Linked DNA regions of Homo sapiens: regions 2, 3, 4, 5, 6 and 7 are each linked to region 1. The links are contacts of gene promoters, found by promoter capture Hi-C in blood cells and fetal thymus (Javierre and others, 2016). All regions are on one chromosome and are shown on one strand. The core of a region is centred on a gene start or on the middle of the fragment in contact, and the rest is flanking DNA. Distances in the headings are between cores, read along the strand shown.

Evidence for each region. Contacts are between HindIII fragments. The CHiCAGO score rates a contact against its expected background, and 5 or more counts as called.
Region 2: a fragment that was not itself captured here is called in contact with the fragment with the promoter of ADRA1B in region 1 in 14 of 17 cell types (M2 macrophages, naive B cells, megakaryocytes and 11 more); the score reaches 13.4 in M2 macrophages.
Region 3: a contact is called between a fragment that was not itself captured here and the fragment with the promoter of ADRA1B in region 1, in 1 of 17 cell types (naive B cells). The highest score is 5.2, in naive B cells.
Region 4: a fragment that was not itself captured here is called in contact with the fragment with the promoter of ADRA1B in region 1 in 1 of 17 cell types (M0 macrophages); the score reaches 5.2 in M0 macrophages.
Region 5: a contact is called between a fragment that was not itself captured here and the fragment with the promoter of ADRA1B in region 1, in 5 of 17 cell types (M2 macrophages, M0 macrophages, megakaryocytes and 2 more). The highest score is 7.0, in M2 macrophages.
Region 6: a fragment that was not itself captured here is called in contact with the fragment with the promoter of ADRA1B in region 1 in 6 of 17 cell types (megakaryocytes, total B cells, M1 macrophages and 3 more); the score reaches 12.3 in megakaryocytes.
Region 7: a contact is called between a fragment that was not itself captured here and the fragment with the promoter of ADRA1B in region 1, in 3 of 17 cell types (M2 macrophages, naive B cells and total B cells). The highest score is 6.5, in M2 macrophages.

The regions. Positions count from the first base shown.
Region 1 is chr5:159,914,960-159,918,303 of GRCh38, reverse strand. ADRA1B (adrenoceptor alpha 1B) reads right to left here and starts at 1,822. Exons shown (of 2, transcript NM_000679.4): 1 at 450-1,822. The coding sequence starts at 1,398. RefSeq lists enhancers at 632-1,248, 1,249-1,865 and a silencer at 1,929-1,988. The HindIII fragment of the contact is 3,740 bases long and covers 1-3,344 here.
Region 2 is chr5:159,153,839-159,157,238 of GRCh38, reverse strand. No RefSeq gene overlaps it. Among named protein-coding and RNA genes, the nearest start is that of RNF145, 54 kb to the left of the region's middle. RefSeq lists an enhancer at 23-152. The HindIII fragment of the contact is 2,787 bases long and covers 53-2,839 here.
Region 3 is chr5:159,252,389-159,255,512 of GRCh38, reverse strand. No RefSeq gene overlaps it. Among named protein-coding and RNA genes, the nearest start is that of UBLCP1, 9.3 kb to the left of the region's middle. The HindIII fragment of the contact is 1,037 bases long and covers 1,188-2,224 here.
Region 4 is chr5:159,129,568-159,133,108 of GRCh38, reverse strand. No RefSeq gene overlaps it. Among named protein-coding and RNA genes, the nearest start is that of LINC02202, 31 kb to the right of the region's middle. The HindIII fragment of the contact is 2,746 bases long and covers 706-3,451 here.
Region 5 is chr5:159,361,141-159,364,507 of GRCh38, reverse strand. IL12B-AS1 (IL12B antisense RNA 1) reads right to left here. Exons shown (of 5, transcript NR_037889.1): 5 at 1,674-2,300. Among named protein-coding and RNA genes, the nearest start is that of IL12B-AS1, 31 kb to the right of the region's middle. The HindIII fragment of the contact is 3,286 bases long and covers 124-3,367 here.
Region 6 is chr5:159,310,713-159,313,846 of GRCh38, reverse strand. LOC105377683 (a long non-coding RNA gene) reads right to left here and starts at 3,025. Exons shown (of 3, transcript XR_941138.3): 1 at 2,833-3,025; 2 at 2,433-2,639. The HindIII fragment of the contact is 1,567 bases long and covers 724-2,290 here.
Region 7 is chr5:159,383,522-159,386,634 of GRCh38, reverse strand. No RefSeq gene overlaps it. Among named protein-coding and RNA genes, the nearest start is that of IL12B-AS1, 54 kb to the right of the region's middle. The HindIII fragment of the contact is 1,988 bases long and covers 672-2,659 here.

The sequences.
Region 1 (3,344 bases), core at 573-3,072:
GCTGCCTTTCTGTGTACGAGCTGCCTCCCTGCTTCCCAAATGCCGCGTCTGCAGTAACTACAAACTATTTTGTATGCTGCATTAGTGACGCTGCCTTAGCCGACACATCATTACTACTGAAATAACGCCGGTGTGATATTCAAGCCCAGTGAATATCCTTTTTAATTATTAAACCGAGGCTGTTGAGTGAGTCATTCCTCATACCAGATTTTCCTTCCCTGGTTCTATTTCCAGAAGCTAGTGCCTTAGCGTGTTCTACTAACACCTGAGTTGGTTTTTAGCCAGCTCCCCAATCTGCAAACCCTTTGCAGAACAAACAATATTATTCAATCTCCGAACACGCACAGACTGCATAAGAAACAAAACCCACAAAAAACTTTAGAGTAAGCTCATCAGTAAACCCAAGGTCCAAAAATGCCCAGTCCCCCTGCTGCTAGTCCCCAACTTACCAAGCGGTAGAGCGATGAAGAAGGGTAGCCAGCACAAGATGAACATACCGACCACAATGCCCAACGTCTTAGCTGCTTTCTTTTCCCTGGAGAACTTAAAAAGTTTGACAGCTATGGAACTCCTGGGGTTGTGGCCCTTGGCCTTGGTACTGCTAAGGGTGTCCTCGTGAAAGTTCTTGGAATGGATCCTCAGGGTCAGCTCCTTGGAGTTGGACATCTCCTTCATGACTCCTGCCTCTAGGTTCTTGGTGGTTCTCTTGGCCACTATATAGACACGGCAGTACATGACTAGAATGACCGCCAGAGGGATGTAGAAGGAGCCCAGAGAGGAGAAGAGGGCATAGAAGGGTTCTTCGGTGACCCCGCACTCCTTGTCATCGTTGGGTGCCGGCTCCTTCCACCCAAGGAGAGGCCCGATGGAGATGACGGTGGACAAGACCCAGACACTGAGCAGCGCCAAGATGGCCTTCCTCCGGGTGACCAGCGTGGGATACTGCAGAGAGTAGCGCACCCCGATGTAGCGATCGATGGAGATGGCGCACAGGCTCAGAATGGACGCTGTGCAGCACAGGACATCCACGGCTGCCCAGATGTCACAGAAGATCCGCCCCAGCACCCAGTAGCCGAGCACCTCTAGGGCCGCTGAGAAGGGCAGGACGGTGAAGCTCAACAGCAGGTCGGCCATGGCCAGGTTGACAATGAAGTAGTTGGTGGGCGTCCGCAGGTGCCGGTTGCAGGCCACAGACAAGATGACTAGGATGTTGCCCACGATGGCAAAGAGGATGAAGGCGCCCAGCACCAGGCCCACAGAGATGGCCCTGGTGATGTCCAGCTGGGGCAGTGTGGAGTTGCTCGAGGTCTGGTTGGGGCCAGTGAAGTTGGCATTTTTCAACTCTCCCCAGTGGGCAGGTGCTGATGTGTTGTGGCCGGTGTCCAGGTCGGGATTCATCTTAGAGTCCGCCCTCCATAGCCAGGGGGATGATTGGGCTCGGAAGGGCTGCGGCGAAGGCTCCTCAGCTGCCCTGAAACTTTGCTTCCCCCGTGGTCTTCTTCCCAGAGGCGCCCTCCTGGCGAGGAGTCATCTCCCCCGGGCAGCCCAGCCCGGCAGCACGTCTCCTGCCTGCACCGAGTCGCTCGCTCGCCTGTCAGAGGGAGGAGGAGGAGGAGAGGGGACGAGGCGGCAGCTCCAAGTTTAATGGTCCACGTCAGGCGCGCCTGGCCGGGCTCGCGGGGGAGCGGCGGGGAGGAGGGGGCGGCAGGGCCGGGGGCGCCCGGCGGTGCCCAGCTCGCTCGGGTCTGCGGACCGCGGCGCGTCCTCCGCCCAGCGAGCGCCGAAGAGGGTCTGCTTTCAATGAGCCGCTTCTGGGCTGACTGCACGGCGGTGACATCAGGCGGGGGAGCCCGGCGCCCTGACTCCGCGCGGCACTAGGGGGCAATGCGGGTCCAGCCAAGGCGCCCGCAGCCCCGACGCCGCCACCCCGCAAGCCGGGAAGCCAGCCGCGTCCCCCGCCGCTCCCAGGGCGCGCCCTCTGCGGGGGGCGGGGCGGGGGCAGGGGCCGCGAGGGCGGGACCTGGGCGTGGAGATCGCGGGTCACCCACCCCTAGGCGGCCCGCTGGGGTTATTTTCCCCGCTAGTCACTCTTCCGTGTCAAAGGTGGGTTGGGGGCTGCTTACCTTTAATAGGGGGCTCCCGGAGTGGGCCCCGGATTTAACGGGATATGCAACTTGTCCAGCACCTAAAAGAGGGAAAGAGAATTCTAGGATTGGGCAGGTGGGAGGGACTTGAGTCGGATCTGAGGCCAGCCCTCATCCTTCATCTGGCTCCCCTCGCCCCGTGCAAACTCTTTGGCCCCAGTAAAATCTGGCTTCTCTTCATCCTTTCATTCGCTCAGGCATTCACTCATTTATTCAGCCGATTCTTACGGAGTCTCCACTCTCTGCCCTGGCTCTGGGCGCTGTGAACATAGCAACTGAACAAAATAGACGGACTCCTGCCCTATAGGAGCGTAGCTTCTCCCGACAGAAGACAGACAGTATACTAAATAAGCAAATGATGAGGTGTGTAATGTGATGACAGGTGTTAGGCTGAAAATAAAGTAAGGAGGGGGAAATGCAGTGGGGTGTTTGTGGGGTGGATTTGAAATGTTAAGTGGGTGCTTGGGATGTCACTGAAGTGATATTTGAGGAAACATGAAGGGAATTGAGGGAGGAAGCTAGCTGGCTATCTGGGAGTGGGGGTGAGGGAGGTCAGAGACCTGGGGAAGGGACGTAGAGGATCTTGGTTATTTGTTGAGTTTTTTCCTTTCTGTCTGATATCCATGTTGGACATTCAGTCACAGGGACGCACTCCCAAAGGTGGGTGAATGGTACTTAGAAGAGAAAGTATGGGCCAAGAAAGAAAGAAAGAAAAAGCCAAAGAACTTTATGTTAGTTCACATTTATCCAACATTTATTTTGTCCTAGACAGTGTGCTGAGTTCTTTTTGCATTTTCTCATGACTCTCATGAGAGAAAGAATACACTCTTCACCATTTCTATTTCATGGATGAGACACCAAATTATGGGGAAGTTTAGCTGTTCGCCCAAGTTCACAAAGGCATGGAGGAGAGCTGCTGGGAACTGAACTCAACTGTGGGGTCTCTCCCAAAGTTGGGTACTCAGCTACTGTGTCATACTTTTCCCCCGGGGCAAGGTAGGGGATGGAACCACTGTTATAGATGGAGCTGCCTTTTGAGTAGTTAATTTTGGGGCCTGAGCCACTGGTGCTGGGCAGGGACTCCCATGAATTGAGCGCTTACTGATAGCCATGCATTTACTCAGTTTCTTTGAGACTTTACAATTCTTTGAGAGAAGCATAACCATTGTTCATTGAGAGATGAGAAACAGTGGTTCAGAG
Region 2 (3,400 bases), core at 197-2,696, 760 kb after region 1:
CTACACCCAGTGTTAGCAAACTTACCTGTGCTTCAGAAGTGTTTGGGAAGCTTTTTATTTTAAAAAAGTACACATTTCTGAACCTTACTTCTGATTCAGATTGAATCAGCCTTTTGGGGTGCCTGAGCATTTCAGAGCTTCTATCCAGCTAGCCTAGCACTAAGGCAGTATGACTTGTTGGCGGGGGGAAAGTATCTAGGCTAGAATTCATTTCTCCCCAGGTGTAGCTGGAAGTTTATCATCTTTTTGGTGCTCCGTGTTAGGCAGAAGACAAAGCAGATAGCTCCCTCTAGTGGTAGGAAGGCTGCTTATCCAAAGACCTAGCAGTAATGATCTGGGATTTTAATAAAAGTAGAGTTCTTTGGAATTACTTTCCACATTATAATACACTTTTTACTTCTTAATAGCAAATAGATCCCAGCTGTACATGCCAAATCAGATGAGTGTGTTAGTAGCCTTTTGGACAAATGTCACTGTGTGTCAGGAGGAATATATTATGTGGTTGTAACAGAAAACCTCAAAATTATAGTGGCTTTAAAACCACAAAGATTTATGTCATGCACGTACATTACAAGGATATCCTGTTTGGTGCAGACACTATCCTGTTTGGTGCAGACACTATTGAACTTTCTGGATGGTCATGCCAAAGGGAAGACTGCAAGGCTGTACACCAGCAATTACACGTTCCTCCCTGGTATGGACATGTCACTTCCACTCACTCCCTTGGCCGGAACTACTGATATGGCCCCACCAGCCACAACAGCACAGAAGTTGTCTTCCACGTCCTAGAAAGAGAGCATATCAGTGACCAGCACTCTGGTGGAGCAACTTCATTTTACAGATTATTTGAAATTTGGGAGCACACCTGTGAATGGTTCCAAATATACCTCTGACTTAATTTGTTATTTGTCCTTACATACTGGACAGTAGCATTGTATAATGCCATCCGTATTCAAAATCTAGCCATTTTGTAATAGCTTCCAACTCACTGCAGAGTTTTTGACTTAGGAAGAAGACAAAGTTTAACCACCTGGTTTGTTCTACTGAAGAGAAGATGAGAAAATTAGATTCAGTTCCTCTTCTATTATGCTTGATCAAATTGAGAGAATCATCAGTTCCCTTATGAGTCCTTTTTAGGTCACTTTTCTTGTCTACTTAATGGTTTCCAGTGTTTTCAGACAGTGCATACCTATTTTCACGCATCAATATTCCCTTAAAAACTTTGTAATAAGGTCTGTCACCTTATGCACTTTGCCATCAAAATTAGTACTGTGACAATCCTTTATCAGTCCTCTTGGATTTAGGGAAATGGACAGCACAGAGGGATAAAAGGGGCTTGCACTAAGGGCAGGAGCTCTGGATTATAATTCTAAGTCCTCTGTGATCTTTGATTAGCCTTTGTTTTTCTGGGCATCAGCCTCATCTGAAAAAAAATCATCACTGAAGTGTCATTCTGTTTCAGGTTTTGCCCATCTGTATTTTTAATCCTCACCACTGACTGAGTAATGAGCTTCATATTTTTGAACAGTTTTAAACTAGAGACAGATGCTTCATTTTTTTTTTTAATATGCTGTGCTACATATTAAACTTACCTAAGATTCGGTTCACCACTGTGTTCCCAGTGTCTGGTATAGGGCAGGAGCACTCTAAATATCTACAGAATGAACAAAGGAACTTAGCAGGTGGCTCCTCATATCCACCCTGTAGTTTAAAAATGGCAGAGAATTCTATTCTTTCCAGAGGCAGAGAGCATAATATTGCATGGCAACTAAATGAAGTAATTTCTGTGAGTGGGTTTTGATCGTCTTAACTGATCAGATCCTGAACTCAGTTTCTAGAGCAGAAATTACAAATTTGGGGCCTTCTGGGGGAAATCTGGGCTGATAAATTTTGCTTTGTTGTTAGGCCTCAGTGATAGATTTATTTTATTTTATTTATTTTTTTGAGATGGAGTCTTGCTCTGTCACCCAGGCTGGAGTGCAATGTCACAATCTCAGCTCACTGCAACCTCCGTTTCCCGGGTTCAAGTGATTCTCCTGCCTCAGTCTCCCGAGTAGCTGGGATTACAGACATGTGCCACCACACCTAGCTAATTTTTGTATTTTAATAGAGACAGAGTTTCACCAGGTTGGCCAGACTGGTCTCGAACTCCTGGCCTCAAGTGATCCACCCGCCTCGGCTTCCCAAAGTGTTGGAATTACAGGCATGAGCCACCATGCCCAGCCTCAATGGTACATTTTTAAATGATATTTTAAAAAATATTTGAATCAGTTGCCAACCATTTAAAAATTGCAAGATTGTATATGACAAACTCAATTTCTATTTTCTTGTGAAAAATTGGAAGTGCTGGCTGCATAGGCCACTCATCCTTGCTTGGCAACAGTCCGCATAAGCTGGGATGGGCTGAGTTTCTAATTCACCCCTGTCGTCTCCACCACAGCTTGCTCTAGCAAATTAGATTGCTGTCATCAGACTCTTCCGTTTGCTTAGAGGATGCCGTAAGTGAACACTGGGCAAATTCGACATCTCATTTAATCACAGTCAAATCCTATATGAATATGTATAGTGCAGATATTCGGTATTGATTAAAGTGAAAAGATTAAAAACCAGAAGCAATGTGTATAAATTTGACATTCATTTATGGAAGTATAGAACCTGTTTGTTTTTCTTTAATGACCGGAGTGCAGTAAAAGAAAAAAAAAATCAATGAGCAAGTGTTTTATTTGAAGATATTTTCAATTTGGATCTATGCTAGAATTTTGCATTTTGGTATCACCAAGTTGTTCCATGAGCAGTGTTTCTCAACCTTTGATGGGCGTTGGAAGCAGGTTGGGAAGCTTGTGAAAAATACAATGCCGGCCGGGCACAGTGCCTCACGCCTGTAATCCTAGCACTTAGGGAGGCTGAGGCGGGTGGATCACCTGAGGTCAGGAGTTCAAGACCAGCCTGACCAACATGGTGAAACCCCGTCTCTAGTAAAAATACAAAAATTAGCCAGGTGTGGTGGCACATGCTTATAATCCCAGCTGCTTGGGAGGCTGAGGCAGGAGAATCACTTGAACCTGGGAGGTGGAGGTTGCAGTGAGCCAAGATCGTGCCACTGCACTCCAGCCTGGGCAACAGAGTTGAGACTCCATCTCAAAAAAAAAAAAAAAGAAAAATACGATGCCTAGACCCAGTGCCATAGATTCTGACTGGGTAGGTTTGGGATGGAGCCTGGTATCTTACCTTTTCCAATTTTTCAGATGATTCTGATTCTATGGAAATGTGAGTACCTTTCATTTAAATATTCCTGCTATTTCAGTGAGAGGGGGCTGCTTGTTCTTGGATCTACCATTTTTATGGAAGAAGATTCTTAGAGAAGAAATACACATGAGGTTTGCCTCTGGGAAACATTGGT
Region 3 (3,124 bases), core at 457-2,956, 660 kb after region 1:
TGTTAACAGGGAACTGTGACAACAGGCATGAATTGTGTCTACAAAGGAAGATTATTAGAGAATCAGTGCCCTAGGTTTTGGGGACAGTTGATTATTGTATTAGTCCCTTTCACTGCTGCTATAAAGAACTGCCCAAGACTGGGTAGTTTATAAAGGAAAGAGGTGTAATTGACTCACAGTTCCACATGTCTGGGTTGGCCTCAGGAAACTTACAATCATGGCAGAAGGTAAAGGGGAAGCAAAGACTTTCTTCACATGGCAGCAGGAGAGTATGTGCAAGCAGGGGAAATTCAGACACTTAGAAAATCATCAGATCTCATGAGAACTCACTCACAATCATGAGAGCAGCATGGGGGAAACCACTCCGATGATCCAATCACCTCCTACCAGGACCCTCCCTTGACATGTGGGAATTATGGGAATTACAATTCAAGATAAGATTTGGATGGGGACACAGACAAACTATGTCATCATGTAGATACCCACTGTCTTGCACCTATCAAAACTGCAGACTCTCAGAAGGAAAGCAGCTGTGCAGCAGAAGCTACATTGTTTGCCAACAGTCTAGTCTCAGTGAGCCATTCTTATCATTTGGGGAAAGTTTCATATCTGTATAGGAACTGTAGGATGTTCCCAGATGCCAGCCAAAGACCAATCTTGCAAGCAAGAATTTCTAAGGATGGCAGGCTTAGGCCTCCCATGGTAACTTTTCTGCATATGTGGTTATTAACTAAATGTTTTCTGCCTTACCAGGCTGTTCCTTTCCTGGTCCTTTGTCTAGAGACAGCAGGCTTGGGGTAGGGATGGGGGAGTGTTACATGAACCCCCTGGCATTTCTAGGTTGCCTGTATTGCCAGTACGTAGTCTGGGATATATGAAACAAAAAGAAATCCCAAGGAATTTGCTAGCATGTTTTTTAAGGTAAATAGCCAATCTGCCTTATTTCTACCTTCCAGAGTCCCCTTATATTTATTTTACATATACTGTCCAGGATTTTTAGCTATACTTAGCAGAAGAATAGGGAGACGTGCAACTGGAACTGTCTTGGAACTGGAAATCTCTGTATTACTTTTACAATGAGAAAAAAAGGCATTTTTTTGTTTTCGTTTTGAAAACAAAACATATCTATATATGACACAGCAAACAAAACAAAACAAAATAAATGAATAAATATGATATAGCAAGCTTAACCTAAATATAGGGCTGAAAAGTTACCAACAGGAGTGAAAAACATTATCATGACTTGATTCCACTTATTCTAACAGTAAAATGCATTTTCTCTCATTTATAAAAATAACATGTACTCGGCTGGGCGCTGTGGCTGACGCCTGTAATCCCAGCAGTTTGGGAGTCTGAGTTGGGTGGATCACCTGAGGTCAGGAATTTGAAACCAGCCTGGCCAACATGGTGAACCCCATCTCTACAAAAAATACAAAAAATTAGCTGGGCGTGGTGGCAGGCACCTGTAATCCCAGCTACTCAGGAGGCTGAGGCAGGAGAATAGCTTGAACCCAGGAGGGAGAGGTTGCAGTGAGCCAAGATTGTGCCATTGCACTACAGCCTGGGCAACAAGAGCGAAACTCCGTCTCAAAAATACAAAATAATAATAATAATAATATGTACTCATTATAAAAAACTGATTCTACTTTTCTTTGACACAGGTGGTTAATATATTAGTTTTCTTTATTTAGTAAACAAAATGAAAACTTCAAAGTTAGTAAAGATTGCAGGGTGGCAGAATATCTACATTCATTTAATTTCATTATCATTTATAGAGAAGAATATAGAGTAGAAATTTTCCCACAGTCAAAGGGTGGAACAGACCTTCCATAGATGTCCCATGCACAGTTTTAATAGGAACAATAAAATGTGTGCTTCTCTTTTATATCCAAAGTCTTGTGCATTAGAGATAGTATCTTCTTACTTATGGAATAATAATTACAATGTCCCAACCCACAAATTCTAGGCTAATGAAACTATTTCTGAGATGAAAATTTTAGCATAATATATTGCTGCCTAATCACATTCACTATGAAATCTTAAAAAAGAACATCAAATTGTTATGTTGTAGTATTTAACATTATGAAGTAATTTCATTTATTTGTTTTTTTACATCCACAGTGACTCATAAGTGAATAAATTAATATCTCCCATGCTTCAAAAAATATCAATGAAATGTTTAGACAGTTACAATCTAAACATTTACAACACAACAAGGCAAGCTTTGATTACCAATAAGCTATCTGTAATGACTAGGCTACCTTGTTTTATTCATTATGCTTCCAATCTTCAGGAGACATTTCTTTAACAATGTGTTTATTTCCAAAGAGCATTAGACAGGGTTCTAGAAGCAGCCTTGCCTAAAATTGCCCTCCTGACCTTGAGGCAATCAATTTCCCCTGACCTCAATTCCATTTGTAAAAATGAGTTTATTGAATAGCCAAAAGACAAAAAGATAAATACGTTCTGTGTTTCAGAGCCTCTATGGTTTAATAGTTCTCAGACAACAGCCTATGGGCCTGGGCTAGATTTTGACAGTTTCCATCAATCTTCCGTTTGCAAAATGAGAAACATAAGCATCACGTAATCCGTAAAACCAAATGGAAAATTCATGTTCTTCCTCTTTATTGACAGCTATTATTACTTCCCTGATATCTGCATATATCTCTCCTGGAATTTTCAGAGCTTCATCATTCATACTTAAATAAATTTTATAGAAAATTTACATTTAGTATGTAGAATTTTATTGAAAACATCAAAGTAGTAATTTTTTTCTTGCTACTGTATAAATATTACCTCAAGTGACTTGTTTTGAAATATTATTTATGGTTTTAAATAACAGAAACTTAAACATGCTAGCTTGAGCCTAAAGGGAGTTGAGGAGAGGAAGCAGGAGAGCAGTATTAGAAAGAGCACAGTACCAGACACAGTTATGCCTGTCGTTGAACCAGGAGTCAAGGTGAGTCCAAGATCCTCAACAATAAATTCTAGATCCATAGACCTTCTCTCAAGAACACTGCCATTCATATGACTCTGACTCCTAGTTTCTGTATTGCTCAGCTCCAAATTCCAAAATCCTGAGATAGAATCTTATTGGCCTCACTTAGGCCACATGTCCTTCTCT
Region 4 (3,541 bases), core at 829-3,328, 790 kb after region 1:
CTCTGGACTTGGTTTCCACATGTGGAGGAGACTTGGATTGCCTGCTCTTAGTCTCTTCAAGCTCTCGTAGTCTATGACTTTAAACTGATGTTTTTTCAACTAAAATTATTTCAGTGCCCCTTACAAGATTTTTGTCCAACGACATTGAACCCACTACTGATTTTTCTGTTTTGTTTTGTTTTTAAACTCAGAGCTTTTATTTATATAGTACTTGTTTTTAAGTTGACTCAGCTTTTTAAAATGTAAATAAAGAAAAAAATGTCATAGGCCCATCACAAGTGGAAACCAGTTCACTTGCCATAAATAAAGGTAACCACAAAAATAAATGTAATAAAAACAACGTAATATAATTAAATTCAAGCGATTGTTTGCCAAAGGCTCAGAGCATGAGTCTACTCTTTTTTCCTCCTTTTTTTAAAAGGGAGATTTGGCAGTGTTGAAGAGGAGTTGAAGACAGACCAGCCCCGAGACTTTCCTTTCAATGTCAGCAGAAGAATTGAGACTGAGAAGACCTTTCTCTCTGTGCAGTTTACAAAACCAACCACAATACTTCATGTACCGTCCAAAACCAGTCTCATGCTTTTATAAGCTGTTCTAAGCTATAAGATTCTTTTTTTTTTCTTATTCTTGATTCTTCAATATTTCTAAAGGGCATGATTAGAAATCATACATTATTAAATGTTTTCTTCAACATATATTTAAGCTTTCATTTTATTTTGGTATCCATTTCAGTTTTGTATTGGTTTAACTTCCCTTTAATGTTTATTTAAATTTGCCTTTACATTCAGTCTTCTTCCACTTAAAACACTCACTCTCTTTTTAACAGAGGAGGTGATATATACCCCTCTGCTGTCAATGTCGAAGCAATTACGTGCCACCAAATGGCTTGTGATGTGCCATCTCCTCCTGATAAAGGCTCATGATAGATAGGATGTGGCAGAGGTCAGGAATTCTGCTGAGTACAACCTGAGGGTATCCTTCAAATTGCTTGAGCTTTCTCCAAATCCCCTAGGACACAATCAGAAAACGAGTCCCCTTTAATTTTGGTGCAGAGCTTTTTTCTTCCTTCTTCACAGAGATTCAGAGTGAAGATGCGTTAGGCTGAGCCATCTAATTGCATTCTTTACTCCCTAACATTAGTTTAGCCCTTTCCTGCTTTGTATCATCTATTATAATTACTAATTTGCTGGCCACAATTAGCATAGGGGGTTTTATAGAAGCAGAAACAATTTCTTAGCTGCCCAATGTTACTAAATAATTTAAAAAGGGGAAGACAACGAATTTCCATCAAATGTGCTTTGTTTTCTTAATGCATGTGTTGCCATTAAGGAAAACCATTATAAGGTAAAGAAATCAGGAAATTCATAAAGATCAATACACCAATTATTTCCTGCATTATAAAAGTTACCTCTTCATAATTTTCTTTTCCTGGTGAGGTAGATTTAATTTGCTATTAGAAACTCAAAAGCTGAGAGGTCAGTTTCACTGTTCAAAACAGACTGCTCTTTGTCTAGCAGGAAACAATGTTTTCCCAAAAAAAAGTCCAGAGAGATCACATCCCCCAAAAAAATCATCATTGAAAAGGTTGATTATGAATCAATAGAAACTTTTTTTTCTATAACAAATTATGTTGAACTATACTGTACCCCCCAGGCCCCACCCCCAAATCAGAGTAAGAATCTCTTGGGGGTTTTTTGTTTGTTTTTTGTTAGTTTTCATCACTGTAACTATGCTGAAATTCAAAGCAGGGTGGGCAGATATTACACAACTTCATGAAATATACTAAATATACCAGTGGAAATCAAATGTGAGGCATGGTTAGTTTCTGCTGGCAGACTTACTTGAGATTTTCTGAAGAATTCTTCAGGTTTCCTCCAGCCCCATTTGTTCCTGATGCTGATCAGTGTTGATGATTCCATTATCTTCTTTATGTTACAGATTCCTCCCTCCCCCAATGTTCACTCTATTGTTTTATTATGTGTTGACATCAGCCTGCGGACGATGGTGTTCTGGCAGAGTCCCCTTCCGTGGCTTTCTGAATACCACTGGTAAGTGTACTTTGAGCCTCTTTCTGGAACTATATCCCCAGGGCTGCAAATTATACTTGATTTCATTGTTTGCAAGTGTGTAGAGCCAACATGTCTGTTTAAGATACTGAGCCAAGTATTGTCTTTCCAGTACATCTATAACTATTGATTCCTATGAGAGAGGCCTAATTATATTTGTGCTTATCTTAAAACCACAGCAATGAAAGAGGCTTTAAAAATTCCTTCATCTCATCTAGGGCCTGGGTCCGTCCCCATCCCCTATCAGCCTTCTGTGGTACAAGTAATAGAAACCAACTCTGGGCAAGTTAAACCAAAAAGGGTATTTGTGTTATTGAAAGGGGGTCTCCAGAAATAAAAAGGCAGCTGAAGAACCAGGCTAGGACGACTCAGGAACCATGAAGATTCTGGGGATCTAGGTGACAGGCACTGACCAGTGGTGTCACCCAGTGGTGACTCCAAGGAGATATTTGAGGATATTTGGAGGAACTTTAAACCCCTCCATCCTACCCTAATTCTTTGTGTGAGAAGTTGAGCTTTCTTACCTTTATGCAAAATGCTATACGAAGATAGGTTAAAGTGGTCCCCCAAATCCTGCCCTCAACAGACTGCCAGCCCCATCCCTTCTACATAGAAATTATAAGGCTGCCATTGAAACAACCACGGGGGGTGGTCAGCTTTGCATAGTCTTCCCAACCCCATACTTAACCACTGCAGAGAAGAGAGTCTTGGGGAAGAAAGTCCATCTGGACAATCTTAGGTGTGTGACCACCCTTCGGCCAGTGTCACTGTTTAAGTCAAGGCTGCCACAATAGAGGAGAGGTAATTCTTCACAGGGAAAATTGAGGGCTGTTCCCCAAGGGAAAGAGAATGGCCAAAAAACATGTGGCCACTACCTTACCAAGAGAGTGAGAATCACTTTCAGTGATATTGGCTGTGCTGACTCTTCAAGTAGCCTCTTGAGAAGATCTGGTGGTTGCAAATCCTGCCTTTCCTTGAAGAGAGCTCAGCCACCCACACCCTTCATGGCTTTCCTCTACTGATCCTGGCTACACATTCTTGAGCTCATCCAAAGCACGTCTTTCAGATGTTTGATGTCAGCTTGCAAGTCAAACTCTCTTTGCAAGTTGCTCTCTCCTTCTCTAGATATTTTTGGGAGCTCTGAACTAGCTATTTTATTTTGCTGGGTTGCGCTTGCCCCAAATCCTTACATGCCTGACTCTATTTCACCCTTCAGTTCTCAGCTCAAATTTCATCTTCTAGATGAGACCTAATCGGACAAATCAAGCTCAAGGCCCTCGTACTCAATGCTTCTCTCTGTCTGCCACCCTGCATACTCTTTATTGCAATATGAAATTACTTTTTTGGGGTTTACTTTTTGTCTATCTTTCCCATGAAACTAAGCTTTAAGTTCCATGAGAACAGAGACCTTCTCTGTCTTTGTATTACTGTATATACTTCTTGCCTAGAATTGTGCCTTTTAGACTAAAGTTGCC
Region 5 (3,367 bases), core at 517-3,016, 550 kb after region 1:
ATGCTAGAAAAAAATAGGGAAAACTCTTGTAGACATTGGGCTAGTCAAGAATTCGTGAAGAACACCTCAAAAGCACAAGCAACGAAAACAAAAATAGACAAATGGGACTTAAAGTTAAAAGCTTCTGCATAGCAAAAGAAATAATCGACAGAGTGATAAACAATCTGTGGAATGGGAGAGAATATTTGCAAACAATACGTCCAAGAGGGGACTAATATCCAGAATTTACAAGGAACTCAACTCAACAACAAAAAATAATCCCATTAAAAAGTGGGCTAAAGACATGAATAGACATTTTTCAAAACAAGATAAACAAATAGCCAACGTGTATATGAAAAAAGTTACACATTACTAATTATCAGAGAAATGTAAATTAAAACCACAATGAAATATCATCTTACACCAATCAGAATGACTATTACTAAAAAGATAAAAAAATAACAGATGTTGGAGAGGATTTGGAGAAAAGGGAACTCTTACACACTGTTGGTGGGAATGTAAACTAGGACAACCTCTATGGAAAACAGTATGAAGATTTCTCAAGGAACTAAAAATAGAACCACTATACAATCCAGCAGTCCTACCCAGCTGAGTATCTACCCAAAGGATAAGAAATCACTATATCAAAGAGATATCTGCACTCATATGTTTATCACAGCATTACTCACAATAGCAAAGATACGGAATCAATCTAAGTGTTCATCAATGGAGGACTGGATAAAGAAAATGTGGGGTATATACACAATGGAATACTATTCAACCATAAAAAGAATGAAATTATATCTTGTGCAGAAACATGGATAGAACTGGGGGCCATTTTCTGACATGAAACAACCCATATACAAAAAGACATGTTCCTCATGTTCTCACTTATAAGAGGAAACTAAATAATGTGTACACACAAAGCAGAATGTGGAGTCTGGGATAATGAACAATGGAGACTCAGAAGGATAGAAGGTTGGTGGGTGATGGTAGGTTGCTTGGTGGGTACAATGTGCCTTGCTCTAGTGATAAATGATGCACTGAAGGCCCTGACTTCACCACAGTGCAATATGTCAACAGCAAAATTGCACTTTACCCAATGAATATATATGAATAATAAAACAATGAGATACCACTACATACCTATTAGAATGGCACCAAAACACAGGCACCACCAAATATTGACAAAAATGTGGAGAAACAGGAACTCCCATTCATTGTTGGTGGGAATGCAAAACGGTATACTACTTTAGAAGACAGTTGGGTAGTTTCTTACCATTCAACTCGGCAAGTGCTCTTGGAATATTTACCCAAAGAGCTTGAAAATTTATATCTACACAAAAACCTAAACATGAATGTATACAGCAGCTTTATTCATAATTGCCAAAACTTAAAAGCAACTAGAACATCCTTCAATACGTGAATGGATAAATAAGCTATGGTATATCCAGACAATTAAGAATTATTCAGCACTGAAAAGAAATGAGCTAATAAGCTATGAAAAAACATAAAGGATATTTAAATGCATAAAAGAGTGAATTTTCTCATATTTCAATTATATCTCAGTAATTTTTAAATCTCTTTAAGGATGTTATCATTAGAATAAACTGAGTAAAAGGCACACAGGATTTTTCTGTGGCATTTTATACAAATGTATGTGAATTTACAGTGATTTCAAAATAAAAAGTTTTGAAGAAATAAATTTTTTAATTATGAGATTTTAAAAACCTCCTTAAGAGATGCACAAAGAAGAAAAAATGAGAAGAAAAAGGTTACACTAAAAATCAGAACTCAGGAGGAGTGTGGATCACAACCATGGGTTCAGATTTCGAGATGATTTACCCAAAGTCATATTCATGTGAGAGATGAAGATGGCTTCTTCATTCTGAAGTTGCTCAAGTTGTCAACAGAAATCTGCTGCCAGTGATGACTCAAAATGTTCCCCAAGATTTGGAGGAATCCCACAATCCTCAGCAACACACCACAGCTTGAGGTCTTTCCCCAAAAGCTCATGGTGGCAGTTCCTTATGAGAGTCAAGTCAATCTGCAACCATTCCAAATCTCCCAGCTGTACTTTCCACCAATGAAGAAGACCAACCCAGGACAAATGGCCTTGCCTAATGAGAGACTGGTGAACCACAAAAACACTTCCCAAAAAGTCCACAGGGTCACAAAGTGGCAGAGCTGTCCATGACAGTTGATGAAGTTCCTCTTTTGGGTTCCACATATGCCTAACAGACTTCCTCCCTTTGGTCCAGCAGCCTCAGCTCCATTAACCACAGGTGGGCATCACTATGGACTAAGTGGGGTGGGGCATTCTGGCAGGAAGCAAAGGGGTAAACAGTCAAAGAGAGTCTGAACTTCAGTTTGGGAAAAAGGCCTTCTCTACACCCATCTAGAAGCCAGAACTTGATTTTCATCAAAAGACTTGAGTTTCATCTCTGCTCAGTTATTGTGGAACCTTACAAAAGTTCTTTAACCTGTTTCCCCACCTCTGTTGGTGATAATAATACCTCTCAGGAAATATTAAGATGACACCTCTCGAGAAATATTAAAATGCAATGAGGTCATGGATATCCAAATACTGGATTTTTCCTTTTCCTTAAGTCAGTGTTTCCCAAGGTGTGGCCTACAAACTATTAATGGTACATAAGAAAATTTTAGATTAAAATAGACTTTTTAATTTTAATCCTTATAAACTTGACTTAAACGATACTAGAAAAAAACATAACTAGCTTTTCTACCTTGCTAAGATTAAGTTTAAAACTGAGTCAAAATAAAATCTACGTTAAAAAAAATTAGGTTAATAATTTCTAGCTGGGCACAGGGGCTCATGACTGTAATCCCAGCACTTTGGGAGGCCGAGGCGGTCGGATCACTTGACGTCAGGAGTTTGGGACCAGCCTGACCAACATGGTGAAATCCCGTTTCTACCAAAAAAATATAAAAAATTAGCTGGGTGTGGTGGCGCCCACCTGTAATCCCAGCTATGTGGGAGGCTGAGGCAAAAGAATCACTTGAACCCAGGAGGTAGAGCTTGCAGGGAGCTGAAATCATGCCACTGCAGTCCAGTCTGGGTGACAGAGTGAGATTCCCTCTCAAAAAATAATAATAATGATAATAATAATAATTTCTAAAATTTAGTAAGTATATATGGCAGAAATAATAAAGACAATTGAAATTTGAGAAATAATGCTTCCACCTATAAGAACCAGGCCTGTGAACCTCATCCTTGGGTCTCCTGGAAGGAGGATCTTCAGGCCTTCTGTATTTTATAATACAGTGCTCTCTTTGTAAGAACCCAGGGACACATTGTTTCTGGACATAGTGTTAGATGTAGTTGTACTTTTCCTAAACATTTGTCTCGTGGATATTGCAAAACTGT
Region 6 (3,134 bases), core at 258-2,757, 600 kb after region 1:
CATATGGTTGTTAATAACAAGTGTTTGTCCCCCTACAGGGTCTTTCATCTGCAGTTACCAAAGTACTTAACGGACATTTAATGAACAACACTAACCAGATTTTTAAAAAATAAATAACTAATCACATTTCATAAGCACTGAGAACTGGGACCTTTCCCCAAATTTCTGGCCAGCCTGGGGCAGAGGTGAGATGTTCTGGCTCCCACCATGCCCAGTGCTTTTGCGACATGACCTCTTAGCATTCGATTAATTTCAGTGCATGCAATGCAGAGTTTTTCTTCTTTAAAGATAGTCTCCAGGACTGTCCTTTTTATTGTAAATCTAGCCACTACAAAATGTACTAAATGTCTAAGCCAAAGATCTTAGGACTGGGAATCAGAGGAGCAGACTCCAGTCCCAACTATGGTTACATAACAGACTTGTGACCTTGAGCAGGGTGTTGGAAACAGCCTGCTGGTTTTCCAATCAATACTCATTCCCAACTGTTTTCTCCCCGATGCCCTCTTCAGCTCTAAATGTTGGTAAGTTTAGCGACCACTTTTTCAGCCACCTTTGTTGCCCAGCAAAGCCAAAACACTGAGTTCTGGCCAATGAGATATAAGAAAATTCTGCTGGGAGGGTTGCTGAGAAGCTTTGGCTTTTCTGATGAAAGACAGAGCCATGTCTAGCATCACCCTTTCCTTCCATCCTCCTCTCTTGAGCAGAAAAAAATCTCGAGAAGCTTCAGAGGACACCTTGTGCCCAGTATGAAAGCCATCATGCAAAAACTCAAGCTAGAGACTTCAGGCTAGGCGCTGTGGCTCATGCCTGTAATCCCAGCACTTTGGGAGACTGAGGTGGGCAGATCACCTAAGGTCAGGAGTTCAAGACCAGCCTGGTCAACATGGTGAAACCCCGTCTCTACCAAAAAAGTACAAACATTAGCTGGGCATGGTGGTACACTCCTATAATCCCAGCTACTTGGGAGGCTGAGGCAGGAGAATCACTTGAACTTAGGAGGCAGAGTTTGCAGTAAGCAGAGATCACACAATTGCACTCCAGCCTGGGCAACAGAGTGAGACTTTGTCTCAAAAAAAAAAAAAAGAAAGAAAAAGAAAAAGAAAAGAAAAGAAAAAAGCCAGACTCCAGATCCTCATGGCATCATGGAGCAGCTGAACCAACCACTGTATCTACCTACCCCAGATTTCTTGACATGTGAGAGAGACAGATCCATATTTGTTTCTTTTTTTTATTGTGGTGAAATATTCATAACATAAAATGTAACATTTTAACCATTTTCAGGTGTACAGTTCAGTGGCATTAAATACATTCATATTGTTGTGCAACCATCACTCCACCCATCACCAGAACTATTTAATCAGACCCCCATCTATGAGAGGCTGCTGGCCAAGTCAGAAAAAGGACCCATGCCAGCACAGGAAGAAACCTGGGGTTTGGTGTCAGAAAACCTGGTTCTGCCCCTCACAGCTGGCATGGGCCTGGTGAAGACACGGAGTACTCGATTTCCAGAGACATCAGGTGGGGCTTTGGTGATACCCTGCTTCGCTGACCTCTGTGAGGTGTAAAACAAGTGAGGACATAAACCTGCAGGCCCCCTCCTGAAATCTTCAAGTGTCATACCCTTAGGAGTCCGTCTCCCCACTCCCATGTTCAAGAAGAAAGTGAGAAAACTAAGCACCAAAGGCAGCCATAGAAGCTGCCTCACGAGGTCCCTAACAACCCTGTGCAGGAGGAATTCTCATCCCATTATTACAGATAAGGAAACTATGGCCAAGGTCCCTGTTCCAAGGGCAGCCTGAGCATCAGCAGGACTCACCTGAAGGCGGGGAGAGATTGGGGATCCCACAGGAAAGCACCTCTACTGTCCTTTCATTCAGTATTTTTGGAGTCCCTGGTACCGTCTCTGTCCTTGGCACCATCCTCAACTTTTTGGATACAGGGGTGAGTGAGCCCCTGCCTTCCCATGGTTTCTCATCTCCAGAGGACCAAATGCTTGGAATTCTAAGCACTGGAGGCCACTTCCTAAGGATCAAGGGCACTATTGCATGAAATAAATAATTGGTTTAATGTGATGGTCACCGTGCCTGGCTCACAGGAAGCACTCAGTGAATGGCAGCTATGTCCACTGACTAGCTGTGATCTTGAACAAGTTATTTAACATCTTCGAGCCTCAGTTTTCTCATCCTTCAAATGGAATGATAGTACCTACCTCATAGTGTGGTTGTGAGGATCAAATGAAATAATGTTCAAAAATTGCTTTAAAATGTACCTGATCCAATAAGTAAAAGCTTACTGTAAAGTAAAATGTACCTGATCTAATAACTAAAAGCTTATTGTTATTAGTTTTATTGTGCTATTTAGAACCTGAAAGAAGCATAATTCTGGACCCTGTGCTTCTTGCAAGGTTTAGGGGATGAAGGGGTGGTTTTTACCTGGCCTTGGTGTCTCTGAGAACCGGGTTGGCATGGAGGAATCATTAATCAGCCAGTGGGGATGAGAAAGCTGGTCCAGTCTGTTAGCATATTTAAAAGCCTCTCCGGTGTAAAATCCCTTTCTTGTAAATAAAATCGCCAAAACGTCCCCACATGGGGGTATCAAGATGCCGTGAACCCCGTTCTTGCTTTCAGGGCTTGTACAGCCTGGTGAGAAACAGAAAAGGGAAATGGTGGTGAATATAATAAAATATAACCTGGCTACTAGCTGAGTTAAAGGTATGTGCACCATAAATATTTATTTTTACAAAGGTTTCCATCTCCCGGGAGGAGCCCTTTCATTCCCTTTCACCTTCTCTGGATGTAATGAATTTGGCATAATCCTACCAATTCACCTTACCTATAAATCAGACTTTAATCATCTCCGTTTCATTTCAGTGTAGTCCTTCTTCTAGGGCGGCGTTTGGGAGCAAAATATATCTGGACAAGACTTTCTCCAGAGGGTCATATTATACCAAGGAAATGAATTCCCTGTCTCAAGCTCATAAACCGCAAAAATAAAGCCAGCATTCTGGCTGAAGGCGGAGGAAACCAGACGCGCACACAGAAAACCCTCCTTCTGCGGGAAGCGCTGGGCGGAGCTGATTTGCATTTACCTTCACGCAGGCCTGGGTTCCGCAGGAGGCCTAGAGCGTTCCGGCA
Region 7 (3,113 bases), core at 416-2,915, 530 kb after region 1:
AATCAATTGAGTATATGAATGAAAAATTTACCAAGGAGACAGATATCATTTTTTAAAAATTCTGAAAATAAAAAATTTACTGAGAGAAATACAAAGTGCATTAGAAAGCTCCAACAGTACCATAAACCAAGCAGAAGAAAGAAGAAAGACTCTCAGAACTTAAAGACATGTCTTTTGAAATAATCCAGTCAGGCAAAAGTAAGGAAAAAGAATAAAAAAGAATGAGCAAAGCCTCTGAGAGAGTGGGGCTACATAAAGTGACCCAAAGTTATGAATTATCTCTATTCCAAAGAGAGAAGAGAGATTTAAAAAAAAAGTTTAGAAAACCTATTTAAGGAAGTAATTGATGAGAACTTCCCAAGTTGAGCAAGAGAGTCACACATCCAGATACAGAAGACTCAGCAATCCCCAGGCAAATCCCCTTTGAAAAAAGAACTTTACCTCAGTGTATTATATTCAGAATATCTAAAGTGAAAGTGAAAGAAAGAATTTTAAAATTAGTGAGAGAAAAGTGGCTAATTACCTATAAAAGGGAATCACATCAGACTAACAATAGACTTTTCAGTAAAATCTTTACAGGCTAGAAGAGAATGAGATGGTATTTTCAAAGTGCTGGGGAAAAAATAAAAACACCTATTAGTCAAGAATTTTACATCCTGCCAGAATAAGCTTCATAAATTAAGGAAAAATAAAGTCTTCTGCAGACAAGCAAATGCTAAGGAAATTTGTCACCACTAGACTGGTCCTACACAAAATGTTGAAAGGGGTCTTAAACATAAAAATGAAAGGTCAATATTCACCATCATGAAAACACATGGAAATATAAAACTCATAGATCTTATAAAAACAATCACACAAAGGAGGAAGTGAAAGGAATTAGGCTAGGCACAGTAGTGCACTCATGTAATTTCAGCACTTTGGGAGGCCAAGGTGGGTGAATCACTTGAGCTCAGAAGTTTGAGACCAGCTCAGGCAACATGACAAAAAATAAAAAAATTAGCCTGGCATAGTGACACACACCTGTAGTCCCAGCTACTTGGGAGGCTGAGGTGGAAGGATGGCTTGAGCCTGGGAGGTTGAGGCTATAGTGAGCCATGATCATACAACTGCACTCCAGCCTGGGTGACAGCATGAGACCCTATCTCAAAAAAAAAAAAAAACAAAAAAAAACCAGCCAGCCATGGTGGTTCACACCTGTAATCCCAGAATTTTGGGAGGCTGAGGCGGGCGGATCACTTGAGGTCAGGAGTTCAAGATAAGCCTGGCCAACATGGCGAAACCCAGTCTCTACTAAAAATACAAAAAAAATTAGCTAGGTGTGGTGACACACATCTGTAATCCCAGCTACGTGGAAGGCTGAGGCAAGAGAATTGCTTATACCCAGGAGGCAGAGTTTGCAGTGAGCCAAGATCACACCACTGCACTCCAGCCTAGGTAACAGAGTGAGACTCCATCTCAAAAAAAAAAAAAAAAAAAAAGGACTCAAACGGCAACACAATAGAATTTCATCAAATCATAAAGTCAAAAACAGAAATAGGAGAAATAATTTATAAAACAACTTGAAAACAATTCACAATATAACAGAAAAAACTTCCCATATCAAGACTAACTTTGAGTGTAAATGGATTAAATAATACTCCACATAGAAGATACAGATTGGCAGAATCATTTGTTGTCATTTATTTCAATAGTTCTGGGAGTATGGGTTGTTTTTGCTTACATGGATAAGTTCTTTAGTGATGATTTATGAGATTTTGGTGCATCCATCACGCAAGCAGTGTACACTGTACCCAATATGTAGTCTTTTATCCCACACCCCTCTCCTAATCTTACCCCCTGAATCCCCAAAGTCCATTACATCATTCTTACGCCTTTGCATCCTTATAGCTTAGCTCACACTTATAAGTGAGAACATACAATATTTGATTTTCCATTCCCAAGTTACCCTACTTAGAATAATGGCTTCCAGCTCCATCCATGTTTCTGCAAAAGAGATTATTTTATTCCTTTTTATGACTGAATAATATTCCATGGTACATATGTACCACATGTTCTTTATCCACTCGTTGGTTGATGGGCACATAGGTTGGTTTTATATCCTTGCAATTGCAAATTGTGCTGCTATAAACATGCATGTGCATGTGTCTTTTTCATACAATGACTTATTTTCCTTTAGGTAGATACCCAGTAGCAGGATATCTGGATCAAATGGTAGTTCTACTTTTAGTTTTTTAAGGAAGCTCCATACTGTTTTCCATAGTGGTTGTACTATTTACATTCCCACCAGCAGTGTAAAGGTGTTCCCTTTTCACCACGTCCACTCCAACATCTATTATTTTTTGACTTTTTAATTATGGCCATTCTTGCATGAGTAAGGTGGTATCTCATTGTGGTTTTAATTTGCAGTTCCCTGATAATTAGTGATGTCGAGCATTTTTTCATATGTTTGGTGGCTGTTTGTATATTTTCTTTTGAGAATTCGCTATTCATGTCTCTTGCCCACTTTTTGATGCAATTATTTGTTTTTTTTCTTGCTAATTTGTTTGAATTCCTTGTGATTCTGAATATTAGTCCTTTGTCAGATGCAAAGGAAAATTTTTTTCCATGCTATGGGTGGTCTGTTTACTCTGCTGATTATTTCTTTTGCCGTGCAGAAGCTTTTTAGTTTAATTAGGACCCATTTATTTATTTCGGTTTTCATTGCATTTGCTTTTGGGGTTTTAGTCATGAATTCTTAGCCTAAGCCAATATCTAGAACAGTTTTTCTGATGTTATCTTCTAGAATTTTTATGGTTTCAGGTCTTAGATTTAAGTCTTCGATCCATCTTTTTTTTTTTTTTTTTTTTTGAAACAGAGTCTCACTCTGTCTGGCTGGAGTGCAATGGCGTGATCTTGGCTCACTGCAGCCTCTGCTTCCCAGGTTCAAGAGATTCTCCTGCCTCAGCCTCCCAAGTAGATAGGACTACAGGCACACACCACCATGCCCAGGTAATTTTTATATTTTTAGTGGATACACAGTTTCACCATGTTGGCCAGACTGGTTGATCCATCTTGAGTTGAATTTTGTATAAGATGAGAGATGAGGTTCCAGTTTTATTCTTCTACATATGGCT